Regions from separate parts of the Homo sapiens genome. Here region 2 is linked to region 1. Evidence: promoter capture Hi-C in human tissues and cell types (Jung and others, 2019). All regions are on one chromosome and are shown on one strand. Each heading gives the region's core, a stretch centred on a gene start or on the middle of the fragment in contact. The rest is flanking DNA. Distances are from core to core; before and after follow the strand shown.

Region 1 (7,668 bases), core at 3,482-5,981:
TGTGGAGGTGAAAAGTCAAATATAAATGCCCAAGACAGATTCAGGTCTAGGGGAGTGTGGGTCGCATGCGGCCCGTGACGTGTAACGGTGATATCACCTTGGGCTTGTATGGGGTGGGGTGTGCTCCAGGGAGGTCATGGTGGTTCCAGACACCGCGACCACCCAAGCAGAACCACACCTCTTCTACTTGCCTCCTGCATTGGGATCATGTGTTAGATCACACTTTTTAATAAAGGGTTTGGCTGCTTCAAAAAAAAAAGCTAAGGTCAGGTGCGGTGGCTTACGCTTGTAATCCCAGCACTTTGAGAGGCTGAGGCAAGAGGATTGCTTGAACCCAGGAGTTTGAGACAAGCCTGGGCAACATGGTGAAACCCCATTTCTACAAAATTAAAAAAAAAATTAACTGGGCATGATAGCACGCGCCTAAAGTCCCAGCTACTCAGGAGGCTGAGGTGGGATCACCTGAGCCCAGGGGGTTTGAGGCTGCAGTGAGCTGAGATCATACCACTGCACTCCAGCCTGGGTGACAGAGCGAGACCTTGTCCTCCCCCCACCCCCCAAAAAAGCTAAAACCTCCCACTATGGTATTAACCAGTTCCTTGGTCTTTATTCTTTATGCGAGATGTGCTTGACTTTTGAACATCTTTATGCTGACATGATTACAGAGTGAATAAGCCATCATCATGCCCTCAAACAGTGAAAGGAAAAGAAAGTGAGAATGTGAGGCACTTTGAGTGGCACCAAAGAAAGGTGTCACAGGAAGTCACTGAACCAGAGCATTGAGTCCACATGTGTGAAAATCCCCCATCAGTGGATGGGTTGGGGTGGCCCTGTCCCCTGAAGAGTGTGGCCTGCGGGAACTGCTGCCAGCAGGTCCTGATGGAGGAAAGGACTCGGGGAACCTGCACAGCCCAGGGAAAATGAAACCCGCGGGAAAACAGGAGGAGGAGTCACGCACCCTGGGCTCAGTTCTGCCATGCACAAGACAGTGATGCTCTGGGAGTCTGCAACTCTGCCCTTCGCCACGCACAGGCTTTAATCCAGTAAGATTGTGGCCAGCAAGATTGCTTTAAAAATACAAAAGCAGCCGGGTGTGGTGGCTCATGCCTGTAATCCCAGCACTTTGGGAGGCCGAGGCAGGAAGGTCACCTGAGGTCAGGAGTTCGAGACCAGCCTGGCCAACATGGTGAAACCTTGTCTCTCTACTAAAAATACAAAAATTTGCCAGGCATGGTGGTACACGCTCTGAGACAAAGCGAGACTCTGTCTCAAAAAATAAAAACAAAATAAAAATACAAAATCTCTACTACTTCACACTCATGAGGCTATTAAAAAATGGAAAAGAGCAAGCGTTAGGGAGGATGTGGAGAAAGTGAAACTCCTGTGCACTGTTGGTGTAAATATGGTGCAGTCTCTATGGAAAACAGTATGATGACTCCCAAAACACTAAACATAGAATTTCCATGTGATCCAGCCATTCTACTTCTAGGTATATACCCTCAAAAAATTAAAAGCAAGGACTTGAAACAGGTATTTGTAAACCTGTGTTCATAGCAGCATTATTCACAATAGCCTAAAGGTGGACGCAGTCCTTCGATGGATACATGGATAAACAAAATGCAGTCTGTACACACAAGGGAATAGTATTCAGTCTTAAAAAGGAAGGAAATTCTGACACATGCTACAATATGAATGAACCCTGACTGTATTATGTTAAGTGAAAAAAGCCACTCACAAAAAAGACAAAGTCTGCATGGGTCCATTTATACGAGGCACCTAGTGTAGTCGAAATTACAGAGACAAAAAGTGGAATGTTGGTAACCAGGGGCTTAGTGGGAGGGGAAGATGGGGAATTGTTTAATAGGTACAGAGATTCAGTCATGCAAGGTGAAAAGAGTTCTGGAGATTGCACAGCAATGTGAATGCAGTTAACACTACTGAACTAGACTCTTCAAAATGGTTATGGTAGAAAAAAAGACAAAATCAGGCTGGGCATGGTGGCTCCCACCTCTAATCCCAGCACTTTGGGAGGCCGAGGTGGGTGGATCACCCGAGGTCAGGAGTTTGAGACCAGCCTGGGCAACATGGTGAAACCCCGTCTCTACTAAAAATACAAAAATTAGCCGACTGTGGTGGCAGGCGCCTGTAGTCCCAGCTACTCTGGAGGCCAAGGCAGACAAATCACTTGAACCCAGGAGGCAGAGGTTGCAGGGAGCCGAGATTGCGCCACTGCATTCCAGCCCGGGAGACAGCGAGACTCCGTCTCAAAAAAAAAAAAAAAAAGAAAATCTAAACAAAAGCAGAGCGTTATCTAGTACTATTATTCAGTTCAACAGCAGTTTATCCAAGCAACTACTGCTTGTGGGTGTGGATGCCAGATGGAGGAGCTACAGAACTGTGAAACAACCACTACCCTTGAGAACCAGTTGGGGAGCCACGACAATGTCCATACACCTTGGCAAGGGCATGGAAAGAAATACCTATTGGGTGCCATAACAACCAGGCTGTGGGTAGCAACAAGACTTCCTGGAGAAGGTGATCTTGAAGGCTTCTTCAACAGAGCAGTGAACCTGGGGACATGGCTGAATTCTGGGGCCCGTTACTACAAACGTGCACCACAACAATATAATCCCTCCCTTTCAGGACACATGGCCCATCTGCATCAGCAACCCTGGGTATTAGAGGACCTGGAGTTAAGCTGACATCCAGAGGGAATAGGGCCCTGATACGATCTTAGGAGATGCGAGGCCATTTCCTTTATCGAGTCCCCAATCCAAAAAATAAGGACGCTGAGAGTCCACAAGTTTTCATGTAAGTGCCTGGGTGAGCCAGATTCTAGAACGCTGGAGACAGCTCTGACCTTATAAAGTGCAGAGCCAAATCCCAGGGCTTTTTGATATTTGCCATGGCCAGATTTATATCTGGAAGGAATGAAAGAACAATAACAAATTTATTTTCCAGTCTGTGTATTATGAATTTCAATGTTTTCCTGTTTCTTCACATGAAGTTTCCTTTCAGTTGGTTATAAAACCCTGTCTCGTTTATGTTGGAGAAAGAACAGGCTGACTGCAACACAGTGGACTTCAAGAGCTAGTTGAAAAGGCATGCTAACCCCATCTTTCCCCCTACTCCCCGCAGCCCCATTCCCTTTGGCTAGAGGCAGCCCTGGGACAGGTCTTGCCTCAAGCCCAGCCTCTTGGAAGAGCCACAGCTGAGTCCTGGGGGCCAAACAGGTTCCAGGCTAATAGGATTTTCCTAAAATGAAAGAATACCCAAGCACTACTGCCTCACAGCATCACGAATAGCTGCACCTTGTGATTAAAAAAAAAAAACCCTGGAAACTCCAAAAATGAACTAACTATAAGAATAGCTGGGGGGAGGCAGGTTGGTGCTCATAACCGGTCCTGGGAACTTTCTAAAGCAGGTGGGTTCGCCGGTGTTGTGCCTCAGCCTGAAACACAAGGAAAGCCGGAGAGACCAACCAAATACCAGGACTGCCTGTCACAGAAGTGCTGGTCCCCAATCCAGGATGACATTGTTACAGCTTAGTTTTCAGCACACACACACACACACACACACCCCACAGACACATACATACGCACACAAGGTTAATTTGTTCAAAGCAGTATGTTTTCAAGAGCTCGCTGAATAAAGACTGTGGGTGTCATTTAGGTAAAGTTCTCCAAGACTTAAGGATTACTTAACTGTAATTGCAATTTCCTTAAAGAATAGCAAAACATTTGCTTACATGTATCTCTGTCTGCAGTTCCCACTTCTCATTGGCTTGAAACTTCTGTGAGAATCCCACACAAACATAGAGCAAATCCAGCCCCGCGGTGTTCAGCTAGCCTGTCTGCTTGTCTATCAGCCGATGCGGCGCAGTAATTGCTAGTGAACTAGTAATTGGCCTCCCGAAATTTAAAAAATACATACAAAAATCCCTTAAAACGACAAAGTTGCTGCCCTTTCCAGAAAAGAAAGAGGAATGAAGCGCTGAGAATTTCGCAGCCCTCTCTGATGCTGGCTTTTGAAACTGTATTAGAAAATACCCACTCCCAAAAGAACGCTTCAAGATGGAAATTACAGAGGCGCAGCTTTTTATAATTAACAATATCATTGCATCACTAGCTCATGCCTTTTCCAATATCCTGACACCGCCTGAATCGCAGCCATAACCATTTTCCACCCATCGGATTTTTAGCAAGGCTTCCAGACCCTGGAGAAAGAAAAGTCCAGCGCCGAGAACCCACCTTTTTATTCCTGGCATGTCCAAGACGCGCGAGGAGGAGATGCGAAGGCGAGAAGAAAGCTCGCGGGCGGGACCCCCGGAGGAGCTCGGGCACGTCGGCCTCCTCTGGGCCCTCGGGGCTCGCGGGTGTTTTATTCCAGAGGGGCCGAGCGAGTCGTGGAGAGGACACGGGGAGAGCGCCGGGGTCCTCCCAGCCACTGCAGAGCCCTCAGCGCAAGCACCTGGTTTTGCTTAGCCCTCTTCAGTAATTCAGCATTAAACCAATTGGAGGAGGAATGTTAAAAATGAACACTTCATTTTCTAAGTATGTTAAACAATGCAAATGGGGCCTCAGTCTGGACACAGCTGGTTCAGATTACAGCGCTCACCAACTGGCTAGACTCCTCACAACAATCTTGGGGCGTCTGCCAGGGCCCAGTGCTCGGCGCTGGGAGGAGAGCCCTTCCCCGGCCGCGCTCGGCTGCGAGCGCCCGGGCAGAAGGCGAGGGGCGGGCGCGCGCAGGGGTGCGGGGGCTGGGAGGGCCCGGGCCCCTTGACCTTCCCACCCAGGGGCGGGGCGGGGCTGGCAGCGCGGCCCGGCGGGGAGGGGCGTGCACGCCCGCGCTGCGTGGCAAGGGGACCCGCGAGAACGTTGTCGCCTCCGGAAGGAAAGGGACTTGAACTCACGACCCACGCAGCTCCAGGGACTAGAAACTCACGATCGATTGGGAAACCAGAACCTACGAAGCAGAGGCTTGGGGCGAGCGACGGGAGAGTCGCGATCTTCCCGAAGAAGGGGTGGGGAGCAGCGGGGTGGGGTGGGGGGGAAGAGGATGGAATCCCGCTGGTGCGAATTCCAGACTTCAGCTTGTGCAATGCAAGTCTTAGGACGCTTTTCTCTCCCCGCCCTCATTCCCCGATTCTCCCTGGCATTTTCTCGCTTTCCTGGAAAAGTGTCCCCTGGCTCGAAAGTGATTTTAACAAGTTAAACGGTGATTTGAAGAAGGGACAGTCTGGAAAAGCAGAATGGTGGAGACAGCACATAAGACATGCTGAGTCCTTTGCATTCATTCTAGTGGAGGCTTCAACCTGTTTCTTTTTCCTGTTTGTTTGTTTGTTTGTTTGTTTGTTTTTAAGCCATTGGAGTACTTTTGTCAATGAAATCTTACAGAAGGCACTCACTCTATAAAACGCCAGTGGATGGACTGTGGCCTATCCCATCTGCTTCCACCTGCATCTTCCTACCTGCAGCCGAAAAGCCCTGATCCAGGTCCCCTGTCCTCACCACCACTCTAAGCAGTAGGAATGATCATCTCCATGTTATTAGAGGTGAAGATAAGAGAGGTTAGGTAACCTCCCCATAGTCACGCAGCTATTCATTGGTACAGCTGAGCCTCTGGAGTCTACATATTTAGCCTTCCCTAAGGCATTTTTGGGGGTAAGTAAATGGAATTCTACCCAAAGGAGAATAACAGAATGTGGATAGTTGTTGAAGCTGTGTCCATTATACTAGTCTAATCTATTTCCTTTTACGTGTTTGAAATTTCCTGTAAAACACTTTTTTAAATACCTTATGTTTATAAGGTTGTTCATCCCCCCATTGTTTGTAAAAGCAAAAGATTATAAACACCTTTAAGGTCGATCAGCAAGGCACCAATAGGGTTAAATAAAGTAAGGGGCTTCCAAAGGGACTATTGTGCAACCAATTAAAACCTAGACACTTAAGAGTCCACATCAAACGACTCCATTTATATAAAATTCAAAGTCAGATAGTGACTGGGAGGCAGCCCAGCCCCTTCTGGGTGCTGGTAATAATCTAATGATTGATCTGGATGCTGGTTATGTAGGGGTGTGTACATTTAATATTTGTGAAGTCTTATGTATGTTATATCTTATTTTGAAAAAAAGACTGAAACAGCTCCGTATGCACTGCTATTGAAGGGTTTCCAATATATTTTGTGGGTCAAAACAGTAGAATATTGGTAATTTCACATAGATTGATCTAATATAGTAATAAATGTAAAAAGTAAGCTGCAGAACTGTGTGTAAAGCATGCCATCATTTGTGGGAAAAAAAATAAATACATAAGTTCTTGCTTGTACACGTACAGAAAAGACATCACCTGAAGGATGCACAAGAAACCATGAGTATTATTGGTCTTAGCTCAGGCTGCTATAACAGAATACCATAGACTGGGTGGTTTATGCAATAACATTTATCTCTCCCAGTTCTGGAGGCTGGAAGTCTGAGATCAGGGTGTGGGCATAGCCAGGTTCTCATGAGGGTCCTCTCCTGGTTGCAGATGACTGTCTTCTTGCTATGTCCTCACATGATGGAGAGAGGGAGACTAGGGTTCCTTTTTTTGAGATGGAGTCTCACTCTCTCGCCCAGGCTGGAGTATGGTGGTGTAATCTCGGCTCACTGCAAGTTCTACCTCCCAAGTTCAGGCAATTCTCCTGCTTCAGCCTCCCAAGTAGCTGGGATTATAGGCACGCACCACCGTGCCTGGCTAATTTTTGTATTTTTAGTAGAGATGGGGTTTTGCCATGTTGGCCAGGCTGGTCTTGAACTCCTGGGCTCAAGCAATCCATGGGCCTCGGCCTCCCAAAATGCTGAGATTACAGGCTTGAGCCACCGCGCCTGGCCAGAGACTGGGATTCCTTTTATAAGGGCACTGGTCCCATTCGTGAGAGCTTCACCCTCATGATCTAATCACCTGCTGAAGGCCTCATCTCCTAGAGCCATCACCTTGGGGATTCAGATTTCAACATATGAATCTGGGGGTTTAAACATATGGTCTGTAACCATCTCCTAGGAGGGAAATCAGGCAGACAATTGGAAAAGAAATAGGAGAGGAAAATTCGCTCCTCATTGCTCACTTTTTGGCATAACTTGAATTTTGTACCTTGTACCTGTATTACCTATTCAAAATATGAGTAATATTCAAAATAATAAAACTTAAAATATCTGATGTAGAACTAGTTGTGGGGGTAGGAAGAGTTTTAAGGGACTCAGTCCATTCACCTCGCAGATACTGTCAACCTTCTTGAAGAACACGGAAGGAGAGGAAATCAATATACCTGTTTCCTACATAGGCAAATTGAGACCGTTGGAAGCAAAACTGTCCCGGGACCCATCTTGGATGAGAGATTGTTTCCATCTTAAAATTGTAGGGTTGGAAAGGGGGAGAAAACGAAGACTGCCATAAAACACTTGGGTCCAAGTCTTGGTTTTTCCTCCTACCCTCTCGACATCTCAGTTTTCTCATCTGCAAGATGGCGATGATAACATCGCCAGGGTTGTTGCGGGAATGAAATAACAGTTATCCTCTTGATTTTCACTGTGTCCACGTTCCCATTCCCTACACAATGCCCTCCAAAATATCCTTAATAAATAGTAAATTATCCACTTCTGTGGACGAGGAAATCACAGCGCCACAA
Region 2 (7,668 bases), core at 1,721-4,220, 33 kb before region 1:
GATGTTACTTTAAAAAGCATTTAGGAGCACAATTATTTATTTTCCAGTTTGTCTCATGTCATATGAATATTACACTGTGCATCATTGTTACATTGTATACATATTAGTTTAATGCACAAACATTGTTATAAATGTTGTTGTACTATCTAAATGTTATAATGTATAAACACTGCCATATTTCCTGAGATTTGCTCTAAAATAAGGAAGTTCTAACATTTCCCTTTGGACCTCTTTCAAGACTTTTTAAGTAGGCATCTTCAAAAGGCCCTTCGGGGCTGGGTATGGTGACTCATGCCTGTAATCCCAACACTTTGGAAGGTTAAGGTGTGAGGATCACGTGAGGCCAGGAGTTAGAGACCAGCCTGAGCAACATAGCGAGACCCTGTCTCTACAAAAAATAAAAAATAGAAAAATTAGCTGGGCAGGACGTGGTGGCCCACACCTGTAATCCTAGCATTTATGGGAGACCGAGGTGGGCAGATCACTTGAGGTCAGGAGTTCAAGACCAGCCTGGCCAACGTGGTGAAACCCTGTATCTACTAAAAATACAAAAATTAGCCAGGCGTGGTGGCACACACCTGTAATCTCAGCTACTTGGGAGGCTGAGGCAGGAGAATCAATTGAACCCAGGAGGCGGAGGTTGCAGTGAGTCGAGATTGTGCCACTGCACTCCAGCCTGGGTGACAGAGCTAGACGATATCTCAAAGAAAAGAAAAAAATTAGCTGGGCATAGTGGTGTGCACCCGTGGTCCCAGCTACTCGGGAGGCTAAGGTTGGAGGATCGCTTGAGCCCGGGAAATCGAGGCTGCCATGAGCCATGTTTGTACCATTGCACTCCAGCCTGGGTGACAGAGTGAGACTCTGACTCAAAAAAAAAAAAAAAAAGCAGTTCTTAGGGGCTCAGGAAAAGACTGAGACACTTTTCTTCTTTAATATGCTAAAGAGGTTGTTGATCCAAAAAGCAGAAAATGTACTCATCAAAATAAGAGCTGTTCACTCATCCATCCATTCATCCATTCATTCATTTAACCAATATGTATTAACCAATGTGTATTAACTCAATATGTACTCCATATTGAGTAGTGCAGAATGGATTCGTATTTTTCATTATTTGTCTTCAAACGCCCTTTTACAAGTATAATTCAATCACAAGTTTTTATCTACCTCTATTCCCTTAGGGAAGTCTAAGGTGTTACTACCCTGTCATTATAAGTGATAAAAATGAGGTGGAGATGGTTCGTGTACAGAACAAAAAATACACATCACGAACCCAACCAGCCCCTCCACTAACTAGCTTTATGTCCATTTCCCCATTTTTAAAATGGGAATATCATGCCTGAATATTTTGGAGGATTCAATGAGATAAGAGATTCCACTAGAGGAAATGCCACCTAAAATGTATTAATAGAGCCTATTACTATTAAAGAAGAAATGCATTTCTCTGGGTCATATAAGAAATAAGAGGGAGAACCGTTACCTAAATCTATTATGTATGAGACTGGGTGTGATGGTCTCACACTGCCAGTTTTACTATCCTCTCACTCACCCACTCAGTGCCTGTTTTCCAGGCCAAAGGAGGAAAGGAGTGAGCAGCATAGAAGACAATTTTGAGGGGCCATTATATTTCCAGTGCCCATTTGTGGAGTTATTTTGGAATATCAAGTAGCTGGAAGGATTGGACAATTTGAGCAGAGATAATTCTTCTAACGCCTGGTCAATAGATGTTCACTCAACTATCATTCAATTATATCAGCAAATACTTACTAAATGACATCTACATTCTTGGCATTGTGCTAGGCATTGTGGATACCAAAGTGAATAAATCATGAAGACCCTATGTCCTGATGACAACGCAATTAAGTTATAAATCAATAACAAAAAGATAATTTAAATCCCCATAAATGTGTAACATTCAGAAACTCACCACTAAATAAATCATGGATAACAAGAAGTGATTACAGGGAAAATTAAAAATTCTTACAACTTAATAGCAATAAATACCATACATCCAAACTTATAGGTCACACCAAAAAATATGTAGTCTTAAGTGCTGACTTAATGAAAGAAGAAAGGCTTACAGTTAATGAGCTAAGCAACCAGCTTAAGAAATTAGAAAAGGGGCCATGCACAGTTGCTCATATCTGTAATCCTAGCACTTTGGGAGGCCAAGGCAGGCAGATCACTTGAGCTCAAGAGTTCGAGACCAGCCTGAGAAACATGGCGAGGCCCTGCCTCTACATAAAATACAAATATTAGCTGGGCGCAGTAGCTCATGCCTGTAATCCCAGCACTTTGGGAGGCCGAGGCAGGCAGATCACGAGGTCAGGAGATCGAGACCATCCTGGCTAACACAGTGAAACCCTGTCTCTACAAAAATACAAAAAAATTTAGCCGAGCGTGGTGGCAGGCGCCTGTAGTCCCAGCTACTCAGGAGGCTGAGGCAGGAGAATGGCATGAACCCAGGAGGCGGAGCTTGCAGTGAGCCGAGATCATGCCACTGCACTCCAGCCTGGGCGACAGAGTGAGACTCTGTCTCAAAAAAAAAAAAAAAAAAAAAAAACAACAAATATTAGCTGGGCAGTATAGTACATACCTGTGGTCCCAGATACTTGAGGCCCAGGAGATCAAAGCTGCAGTGAACCATGATCATGCCACTGCATACAGCCTAGGCAACAGAATGAGACTCTCGAAAAAATAAAAAAAGAAAAAAATTTAAACAGAAACAAATCCAAAACATAGAAAGAAAAGAATAAAAAACAGGAATTGATGAAATAAAAGCAAAAGGAAAAGAAAGAGATCGGGGAGAGCAACAAAGCAAAATATTTCTTTTTGAAAACAGCAAACTGATATGACTCTGGCAATATCTGTGTGGTTTTTTTTTTTGTTTTGTTTTGTTTTGTTTTGTTTTTTGTTTTTTAATTAAAGAATTAACACAAGGCTGGGTGCAGTGACTCACACCTGTAATCCCAGCACTTTGGGAGGCTGAGGCAGGCAGATCATCTGAGGTCAGGAGTTTAAGACCAGCCTGACCAACATGGTGAAACCCCATCTCTACTAAAAATTCAAAAATTAGCTGGGTGTGGTGGCGAGCACCTGTAATCCCAGCTACTTAGGAGGCTGAGGCAGGAGAATCACTTGAACCCAGGGAGTGGAGGTTGCAGTGAGCCAAGATCGCACCACTGCACTCCAGCCTGGGCAACAGAGCAAGTTTCTGTCTAAAAAAATAAAAAATAATAAAAAAAAAAGAGTTAGCACAATATTGGGAATGAAAATACAACAGAACTACAAAGTCAGCAAAGATCAAATAGATAACACAAAGAATGGTAAGAAAAAGCTTATGCAAATGAAGCTAAAAACTTATTAAGTAGACAAGTTCTTAGAAAAAGGTAACTATGTAAAACTGACTTAAGAAGAAACAGAAAGTGCAAACAGTCCCCTAACTTTAAGAAATTATATCGTAGCGGCCAAGCACGGTGGCTCACGCCTGTAATCCCAGCACTTTGGGAGGCCAAGGCGGGTGGATCACGAGGTCAGGAGATCGAGACTATCCTGGCTAATATGGTGAAACCCCGTCTCTATTAAAAATACAAAAAAATTAGCCCAGGCGTGGTGGTGGGCACCTGTAGTCCCAGCTACTCAGGAGGCTGAGGCAGGAGAATGGCATGAACCCGGGAGGCGGAGGTTGCAGTGAGCCGATATCACGCCACTGCACTCCAGCCTGGGCGACAGAGCAAGACTCCATCTCAAAAAAAAAAAAAAAAAAAAAAAAAGAAATCATATCAGTAGCTAAAAATCTTCCCACTCACACACCCAAAAATACCAAATCTCAATGATCTTATAGGCAAATTCAAATAAACTTTCCATGAATTGAATTTGAATAAAATTTCCATGAATGACCTAAGGTTAGACCATTCTAACTTTCCAGAGAATAGAAAAGGAACAATATCTCACTCTATCAAGCTTATATGTGGACACCAAAACTAGTAAGAGTAATATTAAAAAAGAAATGTGGCAGGTCATTCTACTTTATAGACATTAATGACAAAAATCCTAAATAAAATGTTAGCCAAACAAATCCAGCAGTATATTGTAAACAAATCATACTATAACATGACCAAAGATAATGATGGTTACATATGGTAAAAATCTACCATTCTTTGCCTTTTATTTTTTGTTGTTCCTAAGGGCAGGATAACAAAGAACAGCTCAAAAGAATTCAGGTGGCCAGGCACGGTGGCTCACGCCTGTAATCACAGCACTTTGGGAGGCCGAGGTAGGTGGATCACTTGAGGCCAGGAGTTTGAGACCAGCCTGGCCAACATGGTGAAACCCCATCTCTACAAAAAGAATACAAAAATTAGCCAGGCCTGGTGGCCGGTGCCTGTAATCCCAGCTACTCAGGAGGCTGAGACAGAGAATCGCTTGAACGTGGGAGGCGGAGGTTGCCGTGAGAGGAGATCGCACCACTGCACTCCTGCCTGGGTGACAGAGCGAGATTCTGTCTCAAAATCAAACAAAAAAGAATTCAGGTGAGGGACTAGGCATTTCTTCAGATGTTCTGTAAAGAGGATTCATGGTATTATCTACCTGATAACTTTCAATGAAAGGGAGAGTTAGTTTTCTTTGGGGGCAGTATCAGTACTTGCTTACCTGAGGACAGGTGAGCAGCTCAGATGGCAGCTCTAGGCCCCTACTTTTGTTACTAGTGACCATCCCCCAATGTCATGGAAGGGTGTGTGTATGACTGAGATAGTGCATCCTTTAGTGAGTGAGTGCATCCTTTGTTATCTGTCACTGTGGGCTCAGAACAAACTTTGGGTCCTTCTGTTTCTTCTCTTTCCATGCAAAAGTTAGGATTCCAGGTACAGCTCTTGCCCTCCCACCATCCAAACTTCCTTCATCCGGTAACAGCACCCTAATTTTCCTTTAAGGAACTGCCTTTCTGCACTTTTGGTCCATGCACGGCAGGTAGCTTTGGACCCACTGCTGGTTCCGGGGTGGGCTTGTGATGTAGGCTTGCTAAATCAAAGCCCATGGGTTGCTAGTCATTGTGACGAACTCAGGGATGGGCTTGTGACCCATGCTGGCTACTAGAGCCCAACTATGACCTTTTGCCAGAGCTCGAGATTAAGGCAATCTCTCTGGGTTGTTAAACTAGAAAGACATAAGCCTGGAGCTGCCAGCGGCCTCCACTTGAGAGATCCTGCCCTGAGAATGAAGAAGCCTATGTTTTAGAGATAGTCATTGGAGAGAGAGAAAAAAATGAAGGCCATATGACACTACTTAAGCCCTTGCCCTCAGGCATGTCTGAAGCTAGTTCTACTTCTCAGCTTTCAGTTATGAAAAAACAAATTAGGCTGGGTGTGGTGGCTCACGCCTGTAATCCCAGCACTTTGGGAGGCCGAGGTGGGTGGATCACAAGGTCAGGAATTCAAGACCAGCCTGACCAATATAGTGAAACATGTCTCCACTAAAAATACACACATTAGCTGGGCATGGTGGCGTGCAACTGTAGTCCCAGCTACTCGGGAGGCTGAGACAGGAGAATTGCTTAAATGCGGGAGGTAGAGGTTGCAGTGAGCCAAGATCAAGCCACTGCGCTCCAGCCTGGGTGACAGAGTGAGACTCCATCTCAAAAAAAAAAAAAAAAAAAAAAAAAGAAAGAAAGAAAAAACAAAATACGTTTAGGTAGTTTATTGTTGTTTTGCTTAAGCTACTTGGAGCTGGGTTTCTGTCAGTTGCAATCAAAAAGTCCTGATGACTAATACACTGAATTTAATCAAATTTCCCTATAGCTTTATGGAGACACAGAGTCCTAATGTTGGCATTTGCTTCATCAAAAGCCACAGCACCAAGAGTAACAAGTGAATGTATTTCACTTTAAAAGGTAAATGAGAAATTTGCTCTATGTTCCTAGAAATCTCTGCAGAGCACGCCAGTCTAAAGTTGCCCTTCTTAACCTTTTTCATGTTGAGGCACACATAGAACATTACACAAGTGTGTAAGGTACAATGGAATGGGCAAATTGGCCCAAGGACTAAGCCTCCCTCTGAAGCCCCTGCCCCCCAACCCAAGAGCTGAAGAGATCAATATCCAGGCACCTGTACCACCCATGAACCAGTTGGGAGTGTCACATCTAGAATAAGGTAAAGGTGGGAGGTCAGGGAAGCTGTTTCAAGGGACAGTCCTCAAATGAGTCCTCTCATAACAAGATGGGTGACCTGCCTCATCTGATGGTACATTCCTCATCCTCCACATACCATTTGGGAACAAAGTGCTTCTAAGTGATTCGAAGCTTTTCAGAATCAGCCTGCCAAAACCCAGCTGTTTCTGCATAGTCAGGCTTTCTGGAGTGTGTGGCTCTGGATTTGTGGGAAGGACCCCAGCTCTGCTGAAACTGCTCTTGCTCTCTACAGCAGACCCAGATTTTCAGCCAAGAAACAAGAGGGCAGAAGGTCAGGGGACTGGGGGCGGAAGGAGGAGTATCCATAGAGCTGAGCCAAAAGAATGCCATTATTTAAGATATGATTGAAGAGTCTCTCCAAGACTGGCCAAAAGAGGAATTCGATTTGAACTCTGGGGGCTTAAGAATGCTGAGCACCCAGTTTGTAGATTCTTCTGTTGACCTACTGGGGCCAAACAAGGATGGAAGGATGGAAAGAGCATCTTTTCTTTATAAATCCAGTAGCTTGACTTTGTCTACGAGTGCACAAAATCTAAGGAAAGGCATGTTGCTGTTGCTGTTTTCTAACAACCTCATCTTCCTGTTTATCCAGCACTTATTACCCAACTTTCTTGGACAGCTGACCTATCAACAAGCCAGCAAACATTATTGACCCTGTTCTATCTGCAAGACAGGAGATAGGGGATATGAAAGAGACATAAAGATAACAGGACACGAAGCTTTAATGAGTAAGTGGCACAAGCACATTCCTAAGTCTAAGGTAGATGGTGAGAAATGTCCCAACAGAGGCACAAGCACAGTGTTTTGGGAACTCAGAGAAGAGGAGGTTCCAATGGGCTTGGGATGAGATCAGTAAAGATCTAAGAAGGCCTCTGGGAAGAAATCACAGATTAAGGTCATTAAGGATAAGAAAAAAGAATGGCAGCCGGGCACTGTGGCTCATGCGTGTAATCCCAGCACTTTGGGAGGCCAAGATGGGTGGATCACTTGAGCCCAGGAGTTCGAGGTCAGCCAGGCCAACATGGTGAAACCCTGCCTCTAGTAAAAATACAAAAATTAGCTGGGCATGGTGGCATGCACCTGTAATCCCAGCTACTTGGGTGGCTGAGGCAGGAAAATGATGTGAACTTGGGAGGTAGAGGTTGCAGTCAGCCGAGATCACACCACTGAACTCTAACCTGGGTGACAGAGCAAGACTCTGTCTCAAAAAAAAGAAAAAAAAAAAGAAAAGAAAAGAAAAGAAAAGAAAAGAAAAGAAAGAAAGAAAGGAAGGAAGGAAGGAAGGAAGGAAGGAAGGAAGGAAGGAAGGATTACCAGGGGTCTCTGACCTCAAAAGGGTCCCCACTGGAGGAAGAGGGCTGTGTCCTGTGTTATAGGGTGAATCGTGTCCCTCCAAAATTCATATATTCAAGTCCTAACCCCCAGTACCTCAGAATGTGACTGCAATTGGGGACAGGGTCTTCAAAGAGGTAATTCAGTTAAAA

What was found. Contacts are between HindIII fragments. The study calls those that stand out against the background at their distance.
Region 2: a contact is called between a fragment that was not itself captured here and the fragment with the promoter of FBLN5 in region 1, in 2 of the 25 tissues and cell types used here (aorta and pancreas).

Annotation. Positions count from the first base shown.
Region 1 is chr14:91,942,963-91,950,630 of GRCh38, forward strand. FBLN5 (fibulin 5) reads right to left here and starts at 4,732. Exons shown (of 11, transcript NM_006329.4): 1 at 4,251-4,732. The coding sequence starts at 4,267. The HindIII fragment of the contact is 12,789 bases long and covers 1-7,668 here.
Region 2 is chr14:91,911,942-91,919,609 of GRCh38, forward strand. All of the region lies in intron 4 of FBLN5 (fibulin 5), which reads right to left. Among named protein-coding and RNA genes, the nearest start is that of FBLN5, 32 kb to the right of the region's middle. The HindIII fragment of the contact is 4,313 bases long and covers 815-5,127 here.